2 separate regions of the Homo sapiens genome follow, and region 2 is linked to region 1. The links are contacts of gene promoters, found by promoter capture Hi-C in human tissues and cell types (Jung and others, 2019). All regions are on one chromosome and are shown on one strand. The core of a region is centred on a gene start or on the middle of the fragment in contact, and the rest is flanking DNA. Distances in the headings are between cores, read along the strand shown. Region 1 holds the start of SEC24B (SEC24 homolog B, COPII component). Region 2 overlaps SEC24B (SEC24 homolog B, COPII component).

The links. The method cuts DNA at HindIII sites, captures the fragments that hold promoters and counts their contacts. A contact is called where the count stands out against the background at its distance.
Region 2: a contact is called between a fragment that was not itself captured here and the fragment with the promoter of SEC24B in region 1, in 1 of the 25 tissues and cell types used here (hippocampus).

What each region holds. Positions count from the first base shown.
Region 1 is chr4:109,432,454-109,435,829 of GRCh38, reverse strand. SEC24B (SEC24 homolog B, COPII component) reads right to left here and starts at 2,015. Exons shown (of 24, transcript NM_006323.5): 1 at 1,828-2,015. The coding sequence starts at 1,960. SEC24B-AS1 (SEC24B antisense RNA 1) reads left to right here and starts at 2,013. Exons shown (of 3, transcript NR_039978.1): 1 at 2,013-2,096. RefSeq lists enhancers at 1,036-1,185, 1,262-2,121 and silencers at 1,003-1,297, 1,676-1,945, 1,996-2,385. The HindIII fragment of the contact is 2,513 bases long and covers 111-2,623 here.
Region 2 is chr4:109,473,177-109,476,510 of GRCh38, reverse strand. SEC24B (SEC24 homolog B, COPII component) reads right to left here. Exons shown (of 24, transcript NM_006323.5): 3 at 3,325-3,334. Among named protein-coding and RNA genes, the nearest start is that of MIR576, 14 kb to the left of the region's middle. The HindIII fragment of the contact is 4,080 bases long and covers 1-3,334 here.

The sequences.
Region 1 (3,376 bases), core at 766-3,265:
CAGGGCAAGTCAGGAGAGAGGCAGGGACTCTGTCTCATCTGCTACCCTAACCTTGAGTCCCCAACTGGTAAGCATGCAATAAATGTTGAAATGATTATTGCAACATTAAAGGAAAGTAGTGATTATAAACAAGAGAACTCAAGCATCATCTATATTTGGCATCAAAACATTGATTTGTTCTTACAGATTTTAACATCCTGATTACACTTGGCTGAGTACATATCCTGGCATTCTTGAGTGTTCACAAAATTTATAAGGCTGTAATAAACATTTGCCACTTTAAAAACTGTTCACTAAGATGATAATGCATATTCAGAAAATCAAGGAAAGACACAATCCTTGAATCACTGGTAAACATGAGTCTACAATGTTCTAAAAGACTTGGGCTCTTTTACTAAATTATCGTGTTCTAGTTCCTTCATAAAGCTATTTTAAAAACAAACAAAAACAAGAACTTATATTAAGGTTACAAGAACAAACACTGCTCACAAATAGTATTTTTACATTTGTTCAGAACAGGTTTATATCCAAAAGCGATTATAGTAAACAATGACTACTGAGAGTACAGCATGTAATACTGATAGGTAAGGCTGATCCAAAGAATATTAAGGCTAAAGTATCACTCAACTTCTGATCCTCAGGACAAACGATACACTTCATGTTTGAAAAGCATCAGTTGTAAAACTTAGATGTTGATTAAACTAATTCATAAAGTCCAGCAGATTTTCATTAGGAAATTAGATAAAACAGGTCAATCATCTGGAGAGTACTAATGCAGTTTGGTTCTCGTACCAACACAGGACAGAGGTATTTTTCTAAATTCAGTCAATTACTTTCCAAGGTTCTCATCTGACATACTAAGAAGTCTGTAAGGAGAATTCCTCCACCCTTGGCCCCTATCCGCGAACATTCCAAATCTCAGCATTAGGGAATGCATATCCATCATTTTGCAGCCTACTAAAAGCCCACGACCTTAATATGAAAGCGGCTTTCGTGCTGCATTTGGCTGCTGCCTGTATGAAGGCCCTGCCTCAAAGCAGGGCCAACTCTGGCACGTTTTTTCATCTCTGAAAGTGGAGCTAGGAAAAACACCCAGATCTAAAGATGTTCGTTTAAATCCGTTTACATCTGCTCCCTTTCAAACACTACAAGCAAACTCCAAAAGCTTGAGCAGCAGCCGCAGCGGCAATGACAGTTCTTGAGGCCGAACTGGGTCAGGGTTACAGTTACACTTATATAGCATATTTACACCCTTTTGTCTACAAACTTGAGTGCAAACTTAAGTTTCCTCAAGGCAGCGTGTTCGCTGGGCCTCGGGAACCGAAGCAATTTTCCTGAGACAGGAAGGGCACAATCCACCCTGCTGGGTGGCTGCACCAGCCTTCTCCGGACCACGCACTCAGCGGCCTCGGCTTCTGGCCAGCTCTCGCAGCCAAGGGGTCGCTCGGGGCAACTCGCCCGCGTCCAGGCTAGGTAACTGGGTTTTACTACGTGGGCTCCCAGCTTTTCAGTCGCCCCTACTCGCCCGAGGCCGTTTCGGGCCTGGGGTCGCATTACATAAACAGCCACGGCCCCAGCTTTCCCAGGCCGGCCCCCGCCCCCACGCCAGGGGCGTCCCACCCCCGCGCGCCCCGCGCCGTGCCTTCCCTGCCCCCTACCCGCACCCAACCCGGACCCCGCGGCCTCCGCACCGCGCCCGCTCCCGTCCCTCGGGCCGGGCCTGGCCCCGAACGCCCTTCCCGGCCCGGCCCGCCCCGCCCCGATGTGGCCGTGCAGGCCGCCCAGCCGGTGCTAGGCCCCGCGCTCCGCCCGGGCCGCCCGCCTCACCGTTCTGCTGGTGCGGCGCCGGGCCCGCACCCGGGCCCGCGGGCGCTGCGGCTCCTGAGACGGCCGCTCCGCCGAACTTGGGCGGGATCCGGGCGCTGGCGGCCGGGTGAGAGGACCCGGCGGGGGCCGACATGACGGCGCTGGTGGCGACGGCGGCTCCGCTTCAGGGAGGTGGGCGGAGGGAAGGGAAGGCGGGGCCGGAGAGGAGAGAGGAAGAGGAAGGAACGCGCCTGGCGTCACTGAGGGTGTCACCCGGGACCGCGGCTCAGGTACCCAAGCTTCTCCGCGAGTCCAGCGCTGCCACTCGGCGGCCGCCGCGGGCGCGGGGATCCTGGGTCGCTCCGCCTTGACCCACGCGCCCCACGCCCCGGGACTTACACCTGGGGTCGCTCCCCGCACGCGCGGGCCTCGCGCCGGTGCCGCCGCAGCGCCCCCTGCAGGCCGGAGCCGAGCTGGCCCAGGCCTGAGTCTGGCCCGGGGTTCCGTGGCCCCAGTGCCGGCCCCGCGGCTGCTGCTCCGGCCCGGCCAGGTGCCTTCGTGTTGAGGCGAAAGGACTGGGCCTCAGTGGGTGAAGGGACCGGGTGGCCCGCTTCCACCTAGGGCAGAGGCTGGATCGGCCGCGGCGAGGCTGGGCCCAGCATTACTGGGAGGGGAACTTGAGAGCCGCGGGTTGATGTTCGGAGCTCAGGCGACGACTGACCACCCACCCTTCCTCGAAGAGGAACAATGGCTTGGGTTTGGTTTTTAATTTTTGATTCCCCCACCTCCCCTTTCTTGATTCCAAAGGAAATATAGCATTCAAGCGCCATGTCTGTTGGGAATATATAATTCCTTGGCAAAGAAAGAGGAAACATTTCTCTGATAAACACAAGAATCTCAGTAAGAATTGCATTATTGAGAACTTTTCCCACTGATAAAGTAGGGAAGAGGAAGGGGAAAATAGGGTAAGGGAATGCTGGAAGACAAACTTTAAACTTTATCTCCTTTTTTTTTTTTTTTTTTGTCGATTGTTGGTGCATCCTGTTGGTGTTCCGAGAAGTTGTGGCTCAGCTTGCTTTGTCTACATTAGTGGAATCTTTAAGTCTTTCTGGTCTGTCTCAGCATACTCACTGGCAGGCCCTAGACTACATTACCCAAGTCATTTTGCCGTCTTGGAATCCTGAGTATGTCATCACTCTGTATTGGAGATGAGATTGCTCAGAAACACTGAATTCAGAATGGGATCTAGCAAGATGGTATTTCTGGAGCAATAAGTCATTTACTGAATGATTATGCAAAGCATAAATTGCATTGTAGTCCTAGAATAATACAAAGCTTCCCTTTAGTTGTTGCCGTAAATTAATAACTGGCATTTTAATGCACTAAATGAATTTTAGTAGTTAGATTTATATCTTTGACTTCTAGGAATTTCAACTACATTAGAGTTCATATACACAAAAGGGGCAAGCCCTTTTCCACAGCATTTCCAGCTTCTCCACAGAAACCTAGCCCCACATGAGCAAAAGATCACACTCTGTGCTTCATCAAAGAGATTACACAATTACAGATT
Region 2 (3,334 bases), core at 82-2,581, 41 kb before region 1:
GTATGAAAATAAAAACTAAGAATGAAATTTATCTGAACATTATCATATTCTAACAATGAATCATATTCAACTCAGATACAAAACTATAGTGGGGAGAGGAGACAGCCCATTCATTTCACTGAAAGATGTATTTCCAATAAAAACGTACTTCACATAAATACCAAAATTCATGATGTTTATGTTGTTTTGACCAATTTTATACCAACAATAAAAGCTGTAGTGATTGGCCAGGCACAATGGTCACGCCTGTAATCCTAACACTTTGGGAGGCCTAGGCAGGCAGATCACTTGAGGCCAGGAGTTTGAGACCAGCCTGGTCAACATGGTGAAACCCCGTCTCTACTAAAAATACAAAAATTAGCTGGGCATGTTGGCACATGCATGTAATCCCAGCTACTCAGGAGGCTGAGACATGAGAATCGCTTGCATCTGGGAGGCAGAGGCTGCAGTGACCCAAGATCATGCCACTGCACTCCAGCCTGGGTGACAGAGTGAGTCTGTCTCAAAAAAAAAAAAAAAAGAGAGAGAGAAAAAGTTGTAATGATTGATGGCTTCATTCAAAAGAAAATATACTATTTAGAGACTTAAAGTCATAGATAATAAAACAAATTTTAACATTTCATTTTATATATTATGGTCATGGAAAAGCACAATAGAGTGATAAAAGAGTTTCTAGTGTAAGCATATATTTTATTATTACATTAAGGAAAGGGGATATGCCATCAAATAGAAAAATGAAAAATGTAAACTTCCCAAATGTTAAAGAAGGGGTATTTGTGTGTTTTGCAAAAGGACGATGGTAGGTATCATTCCAAAGGGTACATTTGAAAGAATAATGTAACATCTCAGTTTTAAAAGTCAGCCAGCATATATGTTAAAAACTGCATAACTACAAGTATTTAAATTTTTGATGAAAAATTTTAGATATCAATCTAAAAAATGTTCAAGTAGGTAGTTTATAAAAAAAATTTTAGGGGCTACCCAAACAAAAATTTGATGTCTCCCCTAAAAACAGAAAAAAAATGCTTAGTCTTGGGAGAACAACTAAGCAACGGTGTCTTTGAATTTGGAAGAAAAAAGCTAATCTCTTTTTAAGTATAATCACTTTAGTAGTTCATATCAGGCCCACAGTAAACCCTATGCAGATGATACACTGCACAATTCGAAGAAGCTCCATTCATGCAAATGACAATTCGCACCACCATATGTGGTAGCCCTGACTCAATTAGGTTGTATAGCTCAGATCTCTCCAAAGACAAAGAAGTCACTAAGAGGCCATTCTCCTACTTATGAAAAAGGAACAATAAAAACTACAATTCAGATGTCCCCAGTATGATATTTTCTGTTACTTAAGCAAGAAACTTATCTTAGGTAAACCAAGAGTTAGTTTGTCAACAGCCAATGACAACAAAAATTCAGCTTTATTTTATAGAAAGAATACAAGATAGAGAGATCTGAGTTAAAAAATCTTTTGCTTTGCTACTTATTAACTTGTAGTCTTGGGCAAGTTACCTAACCTCTGTCAATCTCACTTTTCTCATCTGTAAAAAAGGAAGAATATCTATGTCATAAGATTAATATGTGAATTAATGAGATATAAAGTATCTGATATATTGTATGTGCTCAATAAATGGCAGCTTCTTCTACTTTCAAAATATATTTTAATAGAAAAAAGAAGAAACATAATTGCAATTGTTTAGTGGGCAAACCATTTACAAAATATTATTTATAAAAAGATGATAGGATGGTATTTATAGTAAGATGGTAAAAAAGAAAATATGATAGGGGCTGGGCGTGGTGGCTCACGCCTGTAATCCCAGCACTTTGGGAGGCCAAGGTGGGCGGATCACCTGAGGTCAAAAGTTCGAGGCCAGATTGGTCAACATGGTAAAACCCCATCTCCACCAAAAATACAAAAATTAGCAGGGCGAGGTGGCGTGCGCCTGTAATCCCAGCTACCCAGGAGGCTGAGACAGGAGAATCGCTGGAACCCAGGAGGCAGAGGCTGCAGTGAGCCAAGATCATGCCACTGCACTCAACCCCGGGTGACAGAGCAAGACTCCCAACTCCAAAAAAAAAAAAAAAACAATAGGAAGAAATAAGCAGCAGGGGCAATGTAATAGGCCAAAAAAAGCGAAACATTTAAGAAATGGAAGGCAGTCATCAATGTAGAGGAAAAACAAGAAAAGACACCATTCATTTAGTTAGGGCTTTGATCTATCCTAAAAGCTTTTTTGATTTGTGATAAACAAAACTTCTACTGGACCTTCACTTTGAAGGCAAATACTTTTAAGAACTAAATTCAGTTTCCAGTATACCCACTGGTTTGTTGAGAATCAACAGGCACTCTTTGGTGCTGCAGTTACTTTTCCTAAAAAACCAAGTAAGAAAATGTGTAATGTATCATCTGATCAATTGACAGAAAGGTCTCTGTTGATCACATAGACACTCAACAGATACAAGCAATGAGATCACCCTAGGAATTTATCATGCTTTTTTCCTTTTCTCAGTTTCAGACCTATAAGAAGGTTCTTCACACTCAACGTTAGGAGCTGTCATTACATAGTGAGTACAGTCCCTAAAATAATACAATGGTTGCTCTGGAAATACAAACTACAGATTCTTGAAAACAGTTCAATCATCTCTGATCAAATAAAAAATGCCATATATTAACCTGAAACATCAATACTTTGGAATTTTAGCCAGACAGGAAAAACAAAAACAAAAACAAAAACTGCCAAAAGAAACAATGTGGGGAAGCAGGGTCAAAACAACACATTTTATTACCTTTTACTTACTTAACACATGGAGAATATTAAACAAACAATAAATCATATAGTTCTTCAATGACGCAAGAGTATGGGTTACAATTTCATTTTCACCCCCTTTCATTTGCAAAATTCTGTCAAAGCTTACTTTCTGTTATCAATAACAAAAAGCACAGAAATAATCAAATAGGATATGGAGAGTCACTAAATAATAAAGTTTTGGCTTCTCTATCCTAAAAGAAACTATAATAACCTTTAAAAAATAGGAAATAAATGTCCCATGACAGAGGAATGAAATAACCATTATACATTGACACAATGAATAATTAGCCATAAAAAGAGCAATAAAGACTCAATATATATGAAGAACTATGTGTAATAAAAAGAAAAGCAAAATACAAAATGGTATGTAATTATGTAAAACATATATGAGACACTGTAAGTTAATATTCCAAAAGTTGTGTTTGGATTGAGATTATAAGTAACTTTTTTTCATATCTTCTATAAATACGTATGTGTGTCTGTGTGCATATACAATAATAAATATCTCAAATACCTTTTTGTTG